Linked DNA regions of Homo sapiens: all the other regions are linked to region 1. Evidence: promoter capture Hi-C in 16 types of primary human blood cells and fetal thymus (Javierre and others, 2016). All regions are on one chromosome and are shown on one strand. Each heading gives the region's core, a stretch centred on a gene start or on the middle of the fragment in contact. The rest is flanking DNA. Distances are from core to core; before and after follow the strand shown. Region 1 holds the start of MRPL3 (mitochondrial ribosomal protein L3). Region 2 overlaps ATP2C1 (ATPase secretory pathway Ca2+ transporting 1). Region 3 overlaps NEK11 (NIMA related kinase 11). Region 4 overlaps NEK11 (NIMA related kinase 11). Region 5 overlaps NEK11 (NIMA related kinase 11).

The links. Contacts are between HindIII fragments. The CHiCAGO score rates a contact against its expected background, and 5 or more counts as called.
Region 2: a fragment that was not itself captured here is called in contact with the fragment with the promoter of MRPL3 in region 1 in 4 of 17 cell types (non-activated CD4 T cells, total CD8 T cells, total CD4 T cells and 1 more); the score reaches 6.5 in non-activated CD4 T cells.
Region 3: a fragment that was not itself captured here is called in contact with the fragment with the promoter of MRPL3 in region 1 in 11 of 17 cell types (total CD8 T cells, naive CD4 T cells, total CD4 T cells and 8 more); the score reaches 16.8 in total CD8 T cells.
Region 4: a fragment that was not itself captured here is called in contact with the fragment with the promoter of MRPL3 in region 1 in 7 of 17 cell types (total CD8 T cells, naive CD8 T cells, M0 macrophages and 4 more); the score reaches 7.1 in total CD8 T cells.
Region 5: a contact is called between a fragment that was not itself captured here and the fragment with the promoter of MRPL3 in region 1, in 1 of 17 cell types (neutrophils). The highest score is 5.1, in neutrophils.

Annotation. Positions count from the first base shown.
Region 1 is chr3:131,501,721-131,504,439 of GRCh38, forward strand. It overlaps MRPL3 (mitochondrial ribosomal protein L3), which reads right to left and starts at 1,251. Exons shown (of 10, transcript NM_007208.4): 1 at 1,010-1,251. The coding sequence starts at 1,101. It overlaps LOC105374114 (a long non-coding RNA gene), which reads left to right and starts at 879. Exons shown (of 3, transcript NR_189111.1): 1 at 879-984. RefSeq lists enhancers at 887-1,573, 1,080-1,149. The HindIII fragment of the contact is 1,488 bases long and covers 551-2,038 here.
Region 2 is chr3:130,992,580-130,995,298 of GRCh38, forward strand. ATP2C1 (ATPase secretory pathway Ca2+ transporting 1) reads left to right here. Exons shown (of 28, transcript NM_001378687.1): 21 at 372-422; 22 at 1,353-1,519. Among named protein-coding and RNA genes, the nearest start is that of ASTE1, 33 kb to the right of the region's middle. The HindIII fragment of the contact is 344 bases long and covers 1,179-1,522 here.
Region 3 is chr3:131,041,369-131,044,087 of GRCh38, forward strand. All of the region lies in intron 3 of NEK11 (NIMA related kinase 11), which reads left to right. Among named protein-coding and RNA genes, the nearest start is that of NEK11, 16 kb to the left of the region's middle. RefSeq lists an enhancer at 1,107-1,917. The HindIII fragment of the contact is 2,555 bases long and covers 92-2,646 here.
Region 4 is chr3:131,062,556-131,065,274 of GRCh38, forward strand. All of the region lies in intron 3 of NEK11 (NIMA related kinase 11), which reads left to right. Among named protein-coding and RNA genes, the nearest start is that of NEK11, 37 kb to the left of the region's middle. The HindIII fragment of the contact is 6,804 bases long and covers 1-2,719 here.
Region 5 is chr3:131,225,679-131,228,397 of GRCh38, forward strand. The region is part of intron 14 of NEK11 (NIMA related kinase 11); the gene reads left to right. Among named protein-coding and RNA genes, the nearest start is that of NUDT16-DT, 150 kb to the right of the region's middle. The HindIII fragment of the contact is 2,820 bases long and covers 1-2,719 here.

The DNA of each region.
Region 1 (2,719 bases), core at 1-2,500:
AAAAGAAAAAATAAATAAAACCAAACCACAATTTAAAAACTTCCTCCACTTAATATAGAAAAGGGAAGTCACAAATTGGAAAGTGTAGTCAGGGCCTTGGGAAAGGGCTTGGATTCTGTATACCTTTTTTTCAGGTCTCCAACCTTTTCCTCACTCCCCACATTCCTTCGGATAAGGCTCACATTTAAACTGTTAGTCGTTACCCTGGAGAAAAAAATTCATCTTCTCCTCGCAGATAAACATATTCCCCAAAAAACAGTCCTACCTATAGACATGAAAAGCCACTAACCCATTTGGAAGTGTACCTTAATAGTTTTACATTCAGTGGAGGTGGCAGAAGGTGGCATGTTGATCTTTGTCTAACAAGCTCACCTCCTCCCTGCAATGACATGGCCTAGGTTCAGAGAAGTGAAGAAACTGGGTGTGCAAAGTTAAAAGATCCACAAAAGGCATGACCTCTGAACAGGTGAACATACCAAGAAAGACCTTAGTGGGCGGAGGTCAGGAAGAAGGGGTGTAATTCTTGCATGGAGGGTCAGAACAGAAGTAAAGCTTTCTGCAGTCTACTCTCCTTTTGTAGTCAGATAAATTCAGGCTAGATTCCTAATTTTCCACTTATTAGTTGAGTGACTTTGGGCAAATTAACTCACCTCCCTAACCTTCAGTTTTATCTGTAAACCTTATGATAGCAGTTTGCTCCCGTGAGGCTACATAAGGCACCTAATACACTTAGCAGAGCGCTTAGTACCTGGCAAACGCTCACTAATTGTAAGATATGATTGCTGTTAATAGCGTTCGCTGCTAGTGGCTGGCTCATAAGCGTTTTTTAAAAATCACCACTTCAATCCCCTTAGAACGTGCTTCCTTAGGTTAACGGCCCTTATTCTTCTGTGTCCCACGTCTCAACAGAGCCCCTTCCTCCTCCACCCAGGGGAGGCCCAACTGCACCAGGCCATTCCACTGCTTCAGGACGCAACTGTGCAGGTAGGACACCCTCACACCTTCCTACCTGTTCCCCGGGCCCAGGGCAGCACCCAGGCCGTCCCCGAGTCGACCCAGCACCTGGGCGCCGACCTGCGTCAGCAGCCTCCAACCCGGCATGGATTAGCCCGGGAAGACTCGACTCACGACTTCCGGGCGCCCTGCCGCTCTGCTTTCAGGGAGTCCCCACGCCACCGCCACGTGGACGCAGTAGCCGTGGGGAAGTTTTCGCAATGGCCGCCGGAACGGTCGCCGGCCGATGCTCTCTGCGACGGAAAGAAAGCCGCCGGACCCACTTCCGGTGCGTTTTACAATGAACTCCGGGCACTCGAGTCGCTCCCCGGAAACTATAGTTCTGCTTCCACCGTTGTCCTACTTTGGATGTGAGTTGGAGTAGGTAGGGGTGGGAAGGGACTGACTCGCCTCTCCAGGGGTAAAATAAAAGGGATGTTCAGAGTTTAAACTTTAGAAGAATAAGGACAGACTTCCTGAGGACGCTAAGGAAAATGAAGACACTTCTAAATAGTGCCCGTTGTGAGGCAATGCATTATGCTAAGCAGCGCTTCATAATCCTATATTTGTTAATCATAAAAAACGGTCCTGAAAGGAAGTATTTATTTTTCTATTATAAATGAGGAAACTGACTCAGAATTTAGGTGCTGGTCCAAAACAACACATCTGGCAGAGGAGCAGAGTTGGCACTGAAACAGGGTTGGCATGTGTTATCAATAGACTACACCCATAGAAATGATGTATGCCTTCTAGGGCTGGATCATAAAACATATTGTTACTTCAGTTTTTGTCTCTTGGATTGCTCCCTGTGGAGAAAGCTAGCCTTCATTTCCTGCAGACACTCAAACAGCTCTGCAGGGAGGAACATATAAAGAGGAATCAACTAGCCAGTCATGACTGAGCCACCTAGGAAGTGGATCCACCAGTCCTCGGCTGCAACTCATGGAGACGTTAAGCCTGAATCTCCCAGCCAGGCCGCTCATGAATTACTGACTAGGAGAAATTGCCAGAGAAAATAAATGATTACCGTTTTTTTGAGTCATTAAGCTTTAGGGTAATTTGTTATGCAATAATAGATAGCTAATACACCTGCACAAAAAATCCCCTGTCTTGGGTTCCAGATCTAGCCTAATAACCATGTATGTGACTAGGACATTTATTCTTCTACTAATTCCCTTATTTGTCAGATTACTGTTTGTAGAAATTTGGAAATAAGAACTTTAAAGTGTAGCTATTTCAACCTTCTCTTTTTACTAGAGATCTGGCTATCTTGGTTTAACAGGTCCAGACAATGGTCAATTCCTGGCCATTACTTGGACTTTAGTGGGCTAAAAAATCTTTGCTTTGCTTGTCCATTCATTCCACTCATTGCTGTTGCAGTTACCTTAGACACTTTTCAATAATACTTTGGACCTTGAAGGAAAAACTACATCTCTTCATTCTAGCCATGCTGCCTGGCTTCCCAGATACTTAAGGATGGCTCTTCATTGAACAAACATGTTTTGAGGTGTGCTACATGCAAGAAGTTGAGAATAAGAAGATTTCTGTACTACTGCCAATAACTAACATTTCTTATCCATATAGTGTGCTAGAGTATGTGCTCAGCATTGTGGAAGCCCATAAGCCAAGGCTACTAGAAGAAAACGTGAACTCATACAAAGTCAAGTTTAATTAGCTTGATGCAGCAAAAGACAGCATATGTCTGAGGATGTTTCCAAAAGAGTGA
Region 2 (2,719 bases), core at 101-2,600, 510 kb before region 1:
GAACAAAGGGAAAAGGCTATTTTAGTTGTATGCGAGTGTCATAGGAAACAGACGCAAGAGAATTTTTCCTTTTTTTGTCTCTGGAACATTTCAAGAATAAGGCTGTTTTCTTTCCAGAGTTTACACATAATGATATAAATTGGATGACTTGTTTAGATTGTGTATTTCCTGTGGTACCTTTGGTAAAGATTGAAATGACCATGTCAGATTAATGTCTTAACAAACATATGTCATATTGCTTAAGCTTGATCTCAGTGGCAAATTAAATACAGCTTAAATTGATGAGTTTTTCATCATTAGTTATGAATGCATGGGTTATTCTGTAGAAATCTTAATATTGAAGATTTTTAGTGTATCTTGTATTTTAACAGGTTGCAGTATTTTACAGAGCTAGCCCAAGGCACAAGATGAAAATTATTAAGGTGAGTGTGTAAGAATCAGATTGTTTTATTTCTGTATACAAAATGCTGCTACTTTACTTTTGTTATGTTTGCATTACAGGGAGTAGAGCATCAAGGTCAGAAATACTGTGAAGCAAAACAGTTTTTTTTTTTTGTAAGAGCTTGACATAGAAACACTAATAGAGAATTTAGTTGGCATAAGATGTAGAAGAAAACTTGAATGAAGTATCTGCAAATACAGCCTTCTTTAAACAGTTAGACAGTATAAAACAATGTTCTAACTGGGGTCCATAGCCGAGTCATCCCAGCGTAAATAGCAGTAATTAGTTAGAAACTAAATAAATACAGCAAGGAAATAGTGTTGTGACAGTGTGAACAGTGCTTAAAAGGCTATGATTATTTATATTAATTAGTCAAATGTATTTAAACCAACTGATAGAGTATCCAGTAGTTAATGGTCTTAAGTTATGATAGCCAGCCATTGTGTAGTTCAGAGTTTCTCAACCTTGGCACCATTGACATTTTGGACTGGATAATTCCTTGTTGTGAAGGGCTGCCCCATATGTTATTGAATGTTTAGCAGCATTCTTGGCCCCTTCCCACTAGGTGCCAGTAACATCCCCCAAATCCTGATAGTCCAAAACATCTCCACACATTGTCAGATGTCCCTTGGGAGACACAATTGCCCCTGGTTGAGAATCATTGTATAGTTGTTTGAAGAACAGAATTTAGAGATACAGTTCTCACAGATGGGAATATTAGTAGCAACTTTTTCTAAGCTTTATCTTACTGAGATCTCCATTTGTTGAAGTTCATTGAACAATGGGTGGTCTATATTATTTCTAATCTTAATTATGTGAAAAAAATAGGGAGGATTTGTTTATCGCTTTGTATGGAAGCAACATTTTTATCAAAATTCCTTCCTCTCCCCTGTCCTCTGCTCCACTCTAGTCGCTACAGAAGAACGGTTCAGTTGTAGCCATGACAGGAGATGGAGTAAATGATGCAGTTGCTCTGAAGGCTGCAGACATTGGAGTTGCGATGGGCCAGACTGGTACAGATGTTTGCAAAGAGGCAGCAGACATGATCCTAGTGGATGATGATTTTCAAACCATAATGTAAGCTTTGTTTCAGTGAATGCCTATCAGAGAATCTTCCCCTATCCTTTCCTGTCCCCCACCCCTAGAGAATTCAACTGGAAAAGAATTAGTATTTAAACATTAGGTAAACTAAACCACTTTTCTAGGGTAATTATCCTATTTTATGGTATGAAGAAGATGATTTGTGTGGCTGGAACAGGCATAGTAAATGGCAGGACCCTCATTTAAGAAGTATTTGCCAAGTGCCAGCCACATTTCACCTTTTTCTGGGCACTAATATGATGGTATAGTAATGGCCTTTATTTTAGTTAAATTCAGGTAGTTAGAAATATGCATATGTATGGCTCTTTTTTTGGCTTTATAATAAATATTGAAAATTATGAAGTTTACATCCATACCTGTTTTTTATATCAGTAATTTATTCATCTTGCCCTCATTTAATGTTATAATTTATTAAATTTAAATAGCTCTATTTGTGTCAGCCACAGTTTCCAGTTGATTTAAGACTCCAGTGTAATACATGGTGGTGTCAGTTTCACAGTGTTCAGGTGGGGATCATGTGAATCCCATTTATTTATTTATTTATTTTTTTGGTAGCTACCTGTTGGATGACCTGAGTTTAGTGATAAATTCCAATTATATGTTCCAGGCTGCTTTATTACTCTGTTTTGGCCTACAGGGAAACATTTGGGAGCTTAGGACTCACAGTATTTGCCAAGCTTTTGCAAGGATATGAGTTTTTTCTTTCCATTATTATAATTATATAGAAATCTTAGAAGAAATGGGGAGTTGATTAAAAAGCATAGATTTTCCTGGATTCAGCTAAATGAATGAGATAATTTATATGAATCCTTGTAAACCATGTTCTTCATTTAATTCCTCTGCAACATGTGATCTACTTGATGTGCAGGAGCAACACGTAGCTTAAATTCTATAATTCCTATATATCTCATTGCCATTTGATTCCTGACATGCATTAGTTTAAACCTTTACTCTGCATTTTGTACCACTAAGAAAAATGAGCTTAGAGGAAGGTGAAGAAGATAATCATGGCTGGGCAGGGTACCTCATGCCTGTAATGCCAGCACTTTGGGAGGCTGAGGTGGATGGATCACTTGAGCCCAGGAGTTCGAAACCAGCCTAGGCAACATGTCAAAACCCATCTCTCCAAACAATACAAAAAAAATAGCTGGGAGTGGTGATGTGAGCCTGTGGTCT
Region 3 (2,719 bases), core at 119-2,618, 460 kb before region 1:
TTAAAGCAGTTGACTATTGAACTTGCAGGGAGTAAGTACATATTCAAAAGGTTTTGAAAACTGACAACAGTAGATAATTTCCCACAGATAAAGCTTATTTTGGCATTATTTTGCTAGCTCACATAACCATAAAAACTCTGTGTGTGTGTGTGTATGTGTATACATACGTAAATATATACTCACGTATATATATGTGTGTGTGTATGTGTGTGTTTAAGGTGTGTATATGTGTATGCATTTTTTAATTGGACAGTTTTTTAGTTCAACACTAGTTTCAGCAGCAAAAGTTGTGTTCAGCTGGTAATAATATCCCGTTCTGATGGATGAAGAGGCAAGGGCTCAATATTTCATAACTATACTTGGACATGAACTCAGTATTGAGTACTTGGAAGTACTCAGTGGAGACTTCTACTTTATAAAAATTCAAAAGGCGATTCCAGGGCAAGATGGCCGAATAAGAACAGCTCTGGTCTGCAGCTCCCAGCGAGATCAATGCAGAAGGTGGGTGATTTCTGCATTTCCAACTGAGGTACCTGGTTCATCTCATTGGGACTGGTTAGATGTGGGTACAGCCCACGGAGGGCGAGCAGAAGGAGGGTGGGGCGTCACCTCACCCCGGAAGTGCAAGGGGTTGGGGAGCTCCCTCCCCTAGCGAAGGGAAGCTGTGAGGGACTGTGCCATGAGGAACAGTGCATTCCAGCTCAGCCACTATACCTTTCCCACAGTCTTCACAGACCAGGAGATTCCATCAGGGGCCTACACCACAAGCGCCCTGGGTTTCAAGCACAAAACTGGGCAACCGTTTGGGCAGACACCCAGCTAGCTGCAGGTTTTTGTTTTTTGTTTTTTTTTTCCCTGTATCCCAGTGGTGCCTGGAATGCCAGCGAGACAGAACTGTTCACTCCCCTGGAAAGGGGGCTGAAGCCAGGGAGCCAAGAGGTCTTGCTCAGCGGATCCCATTCCCATGGAACCCAGCAAGCTAAGATCCACTGGCTTGAAATTCTCACAGCCAGCATGGCAGTCTGAGGTCGACCTGGGATGCTGTTGCTTGGTGGGGGGAGGGGTGTTCACCATTACTGAGGCTTGAGTAGGTGGTTTTCCCTTCACAGTATAAACAAAGCTGCCAGGAAGTTCAAACTGGGTGGAGCCTACTGCAGTGCCACAAAGCCGCTGTAGCCAGACTGTCTCTCTAGATTCCTCCTCTCTGGCAGGGCATCTCTGAAAGAAAGGCAGCAGCCTCAGTTAGGGGCTTATAGATAAAACTCCCATCTCCCTGGGACAGAGCACCTGGGGGAAGGGGCGGCTGTGGGTACAGCTTCAGCAGACTTAAACGTTCCTGCCTGCTGACTCTGAAGAGAGCAGCAGATTTCCCAGCACAGCACTCGAGCTCTGCTAAGGGACAGACTGCCTCCACAAGTGGGTCCCTGACCCCCGTGCCTCCTGATGGGGAGACACCTTCCAGCAGGGGTCGACAGGTACCTCACACGGGAGAGCTCTGGCTGGCATCTGGCAGGTGCCACTCTGGGATGAGGCTTCCAGAGGAAGGAACAGGCAGCAATCTTTGCTGTTCTGCAGCCTCTGCTGGTGATACCCAGGCAAACGGGGTTTGGAGTGGACCCCCAGAAAATACCAGCAGACCTGCAGAAGAGGGGCCTGACTGTTAGAAGGAAAACTAACAAACAGAAAGCAATAGCATCAACATCAACAAAAAGGATGACCACGCAAAAACTTCATCCAAAGGTCACCAACAGCAAAGAACAAAGGTAGGTAAATCCACGAAGATGAGGAAAAACCAGCGCAAAAAGGCTGAAAATTCCAAAAACCAGAATGCCACTTCTCCAAAGGATCACAACTCCTCGCCAGCAAGAGAACAAAACTGGATGGAGAATGAGTTTGACAAATTGACAGAAGTATGCTTCAGAAGGTGGATAATAATGAACTCCTCCGAGCTAAAGGAGCGTGTTCTAACCCAATGCAAAGAAGTTAGGAACCTTGATAAAAATTAGAGGAGTTGCTAACTAGAATAACCGGTTTAGATAAGAACACAAATGATGTGATGGAGCTGAAAAACAGCACAAGAACTTCATGAAGGAAGCATACACAAGTATCAATAGTCAAATCAATCAAGTGGAAGAAAGTATATCAGTGATTGAAGATCAACTTAATGAAATCAAGTGTGAAGACAAGATTAGAGAAAAAAGAATGAAAAGTAATGAACAAAGACTTCAAGAAATATGGGACTATGTGAACAGACCAAATCTACATTTGATTGGTGTACCTGTAAGGGACGGGGAGAATGGAACCAAGTTGGAAAACACTCATCAGGATATTATCCGGGAGAACTTCCCCAACCTAGCAAGACAGGCCAACATTCAAATTCAGGAAATACAGAGAACACTGCAAAGATACTCCTCAAGAAGACCAACCCCAAGACACATAATCGTCAGATTCACCAAGGTTGAAATGAAGGAAAAAATGTGAAGGGCAGCCAGAGAGAAAGGTTGGTTTACCCACAAAGGGAAGCCTATCAGACTAACAACAGACCTCTCTGCAGAAACCCTACATGCCAGAAGAGAGTGGGGGCCAATATTCAACATTCTTAAAGGAAAGAATTTTCAACCCAGAATTCCATATCCAGCCAAACTAAGCTTCAAAAATGAAGGAGAAATGAAACCCTTTACAGACAAGCAAATACTGAGGATTTTGCCTTACAAGAGGT
Region 4 (2,719 bases), core at 118-2,617, 440 kb before region 1:
AAAGTTATCTTGTGCTCCTTCTAATCTTCCTCCACCCCAAACCCAGGCAAATACTGATATGCTTCTGTGACTATAGGTAAGTCTTTTCTAGCGTTTTGAATAAACAGAACCATGTGGTATGGACTGTTTTCGTCTGGCTTCCTTCACTCAGCATTGTGTTTTAGAGATTTAGCACCACAGCCTGATTAAACAAGTCGTGGTGCTAGTAGAGATGTGACTCCACAGCTCTGACTGTCAAGGAGGAAAGGAACCACCACATCATCTCCTCTATTCTGGCCAGTTCCAGGCTCCAACCGATCCCCACTAATGCTGTAGTAGGAGACTCAGGCATTCACTGTAATCAACTACATAAAGCTAGGCAAGAGAAATGGAAGTAAAGGGATCTCAGGGCAGTGTTGGCCCAGCTGATGAAGATAATCTCTCAACAGAATCAGAGAATCTTAGGTATGAATGAAGTTTTAAAAAATTATTATTTTTGTTATTTTAAGAGACAGACTTTTGCGCTGATGCCCAGGCTAGAGTGCAGTGGCACAATCACTGCTCACTGCAGCCTCAAACTCCTAGGGTTAGGCAGTCCTCCTGCCTCAGCCTCCCAAGTAGCTGGGACTACAGCCACATGCCACCACGCCCAGCTAATTTTTTTACTTTTTATAGAGAGGGGGTCTCACTATGTTGCCCAGGCTGGTCTGAAGCTCCTGGACTTAAGCAATTCTTCTGCCTTGGCCTCACAAAGTGCTAGGATTACAGTTGTGAGCCACTGCATCTAGCCTGAATGGAGCTTTTACGTCATCTAACCCAAGCCCCTTACTCTGTGGTTAATTAAGATAATTCAGCAGAGTATTTTTCATTCCAGGACCATCTTCTCTATGCCCTGAATTCTGAGTCTTGAATACAAGACAACTCTTGGAGGGCAACTGTCCTTTTTCTCAGATGTAGTAGAAAGGAAGGGGACAGAGTGGGAAACAGAAGCAAGAAAAAGGATACAGAGATAGGATCATGAATAGAGGAGGTGGATGGGTCAGGTTTGGGAATAATGATTAATACAGTCCCGATAGATAGGGTCCAGTTGATAGAATACCTTGAACTGGAGGCTTAATAAGTTTTGTCTGATGGGGAATACAAGAGAAGATCTTTAGCAAGAGAGTGACATAAAAGTAGTATTTGAAAAATGATTATCCTTGAGCTTGAGGAAATCATAGAGTAACTCACCAGCCAGGAAATTTACTACAAGTGTAAAATTACCCGTATGACCTAGCAATTCCATTCCTAGGTACATACCCAAAAGACATAAAAACATATATCCACTCAAAACCTTGTACACAAATGTTTACAGCAGCATTATTCATAATAACCAAAAGGTAGAAACAACCCAAGTGTCCATCAACTGATAAATGGATAAACAAAATATGGTATATCCATACAATAGAATATTATTTAGCCATGAGAAGCCATGAAATACTGATACATGCTACAGTCTGGATAAACCTTGAAAACAATATGCTAAGTGGAAGAAGACAGTCACAAAAGACTACATATTCTATGATTCAACTTATATGAAATATCAAGCAGGCAAACCCACAGAAAGAAAAGTGGTTGCCAGGGGCTATGGAGAGTGGGAATGGGTAGTGATTGCTGATGGATAAGGGATTTCTTTGGGGACTGTGTTAGTTTTCCAGGGCTGCCATAATGAAATGCCACAGACTAGGTGGTTTGAATAACAGAAATTTATTTTCTCATGTTCTGGAGGCCGAAAGTCCAAGAATAAGGTGCCAGCAGGGTGATTTTTTTCTGAGGCTGCTCTCCTTGGCTTGTAGATGGCCACCTCCTTGCTCTGTTTTCACATGGCCTTTCTGTGTTTGTGCAAGCGTGTCCCTGGTCTCTCCCTCTCCTTATAAGAACAACACTTATATAGGATTAGGGCCCACTCTGCTGGCCTCATTTTAACTTAATCGACTCTTTCAAGACCTTATCTCCAAATACAGTTACATTCTGAGGCACTGGGGGTTGAGACCAACATATGAATTTTAGGGGGACACAATTCAATCCATAATAAGGATAATAAAGGGTTCTAAAATTAGACAGTGTTGATGGTTGCAGACCTCTGGGGATATACTAAAAGCTACTGAATTGTACACTTGAAAAGAGTGAATTTAATGGTACATGAATTATGTCTCAATAAAACTGTTAGTAACAAAAAATAAAAACTAAACTGGACATAGCTCTTGCCTTCAAAGAGCTTATGGACCAGTCAGGCAAACAAGAATGTAAATAGGCATTTTCAACCCCTTGCAGGGCATGCTAGATGGAGATGTGCTTATTCTATTTTTATAGAGTAGAGAAGACATTCTGGAAGAGTGAACGTTGGAGCCAAACTTACAGAATGAATATAAATCTGGCAGAGAAAGGGTAGAGACAGTGTGTCCCAGACAGCGGAATAGCATAAGTGAAGGCACAAAGGCATGAAAACCCTGGCATGTACAAGGAAGGAACTTTACAACACAGTTATCATGCCCTTGCTAGTCTGCTTTCTCTTGTTATTATTAAAATTTAAATGCTGGATAAAGATTACATTAACAATGAGTAGAAAGAGCTTTGGTCTTAAAGTCAGACCTCCTGCATTTATATCTCAGTCTTTCCACTTACTTTGGACAATTACCTAAACTACCAGTCTCAGTTTTCTTATCTGTAAAATGGGGAAAATAAGGATGATTCTATATGG
Region 5 (2,719 bases), core at 81-2,580, 280 kb before region 1:
ATTCTAAAGGAGTGTTTCTGAATGTTGGCCTCTCTAGCTAGGTTGGGGTGTTTTTCAAACTGCAGGTTGAGAGGTCAGTTTAGTGAGTTGCAACCAGCATTAAAAAAATAATTGAACAGGATGAAAAACACCAGAGTGTGTCATATGTAGTTTGGGTAAATAGGTCTTGGTGTATGAAACTTTTGTTTCGACTATAAAGATATTTATAAACATACATATATAAGCACATTTCTGTGCACTGGGCAACAATGTAAATGATATTTCTTACCATGTCGTAGTTTGAAAGCCAAGGGAGTGGACAAGGAGGAATGAAGATAAAGAAAAAATGGGAGAGCAAGAGGGAAAAATATGAATGAGTGAGAGAATGAATAACTGTCAAAGGGACAAAGAGACTCGAGAGGGAGAGGAAGTAGAAAAGAGTGGGGAAAGAGGGAGAATGGACAACTCAGAGAAAGAGACACAGAGATTCAGGGAGAGTTGAGGGTGGGCAAGAGAAGGAAGACATCATATGGTTCTGTCTTTCATTCCACTCAGCAAGCACATGTCCCTACTTGATGGCAGAACTGGAGATCTCTCAGGAGATTTTAGTTTTCATACACTTCTCATGCTGTGATTCTCTTGTCGTTCTCAGTGTAAGTAAAATGAAGATCTTTATTAACATGGCTTCTAGTCATTACAGCAAAAAGACACCTGCACGTTTATGTTTATCACAACACAATTCACAATTGCAAGGATATGGAACCAACATAACTGCCCATCACTGATGAGTGGATAAAGAAAATGTGGCATATATACACCATGCAATACTACTCAGCCATTAAAAAAAGAATGAAATACTGTCTTTTGCAGCAACCTGGATGGAGCTGGAGGCCATTATTCTAAGTGAAGTAACTCAGGAATGGAAAACCAAATACCATATGTTCTCACTTATAAGTGGGAGCTAAGCTATGGGTACACAGAGGCATGCAGAGTGGGATAATGGACTTTGGAGACTCAGAAGGGAGGAGGGTGGGAGGGAGGTAAGGGATAAAAGACTACATATTGGGTACAGTGTATACTACTCGGTGAGGGTGCACTAAAATCTCAGACTTCACCACTACAAAAGTCACCCATGTAACCAAAAACCACTTGTATGCAAAAGGTATTGAAGTTCTATATGCATGTACATATGTGTATAGGTATGTTATATATATATGTGTACATACAGACACGTGCAGGTGTCTTCTTGATATAATGACTAGAAGCCACGTTTAATAAAAATAATATATATTATTTCAATATAAATAATAAAAATAATAAAAACTATGGCTTCTCCATAACAGTATTCTATCTCATCTGTTGCTCAGCTGAAAATCAGTGATCTGAACTGATGTGAAAAAAAAAAATACGCTGTGTTGAAATTGCTGAGAGAAGGTATGAGATCCCTAGTACACTGCTTTCTAAGGAACTGGCAAAGGCAATTTTGAATATATGTAATTTTTGTCTTTTGAGCTGACTAATTTTTATTCTACTGTACAGCAGCCTTTTATGTTTTAGTGGGAAACCATAGATAACAAACACATTTTAACATCTTCTATTTCCAGGGAATTCTACATCCATTAAGTATCTTACTTTCAAAGGATTCTGGACTCATTTAATGAAAAGCCCATTTGTACAGACTTGGAAATTGAGTGAACATTTGTATGAAACTTCCCTGCATACCGATGCTTTCATGAGAATTCTATTACTCAATCTCAGCAGCCACTCTACTAGATTACACTTATGTTAATTTTATCACAGAAATTGGAGCTCTGTGAGTTTAAGTCTCTTGCACAAATTTTCATCTAAAAAGTGGAAGAGCTAGATTCTAGCCTTGATTTTCTGACCCCAAATTTCATATTTTTCCCACTAGACCAGAAATAGCAACAATAGATTGAAAAATAATGTGTTACAATTTGGAAGAAAAATTTTAATTTTAAGTCTGAGTATGGTGCAAAGTCTAAAATGCCCATTGTTTTGCTGCAGCTGAGTATTCTAATTTTCTCCTCCCCCAGCCCAAGGGTAGTTGTTTGGGTAGTTCTTTATTTCTAGCCCCCCATTAGTAAATTATATTGTTATGCTTTCTTGTGATCCATTCATGGCCTTTCTTCACTGAAGATTGTTATAAACACCAACTTTATTCTAGTTACTAACAATGTTGCATCAAGTAACTTGGGTAGATGCTTATTGTCATCAGCTTAGGTGGGTATTCTTTTTTAAAATAAGTGCTGAATGTAAGGTTGAGTAAGTAGGACCCACCAGAGTGAACTCCATCTCAAAAGCCATCATTACCTGTTAGAAAAGAATTGTGTTTTTCCCAGCTTGCCAAAATGATGCTGCTATATATCCTATTCATCTTGTTTGGTCCTACCAGTAACATTTAAAAAAAAAGAAATATCTAGGAAAAATGCTGTGGTAGTTTTGCTCCAACTTCCTATGCTAAAAACTTTATGTGTGTTGTGTAATAGGACCCTTCAGCCAGGACATCTTGTCCTACCTTTGCCCCTAAATTTCCTCATTTTTAATAAGGATTCATGCCTCCAAATGTCAAAATGTTAAAGCATATTATTTATTCTTATTTAATGATTTTTTTCTTACCTTCAAACGGTAGTTGCTAATGGAAATGTTCCTCCTTTCCTCTACTGGTTTTATTTTGCTGAGTGTTTATTACATTCAACCAAATACTTCCAGGAAGCTGAGA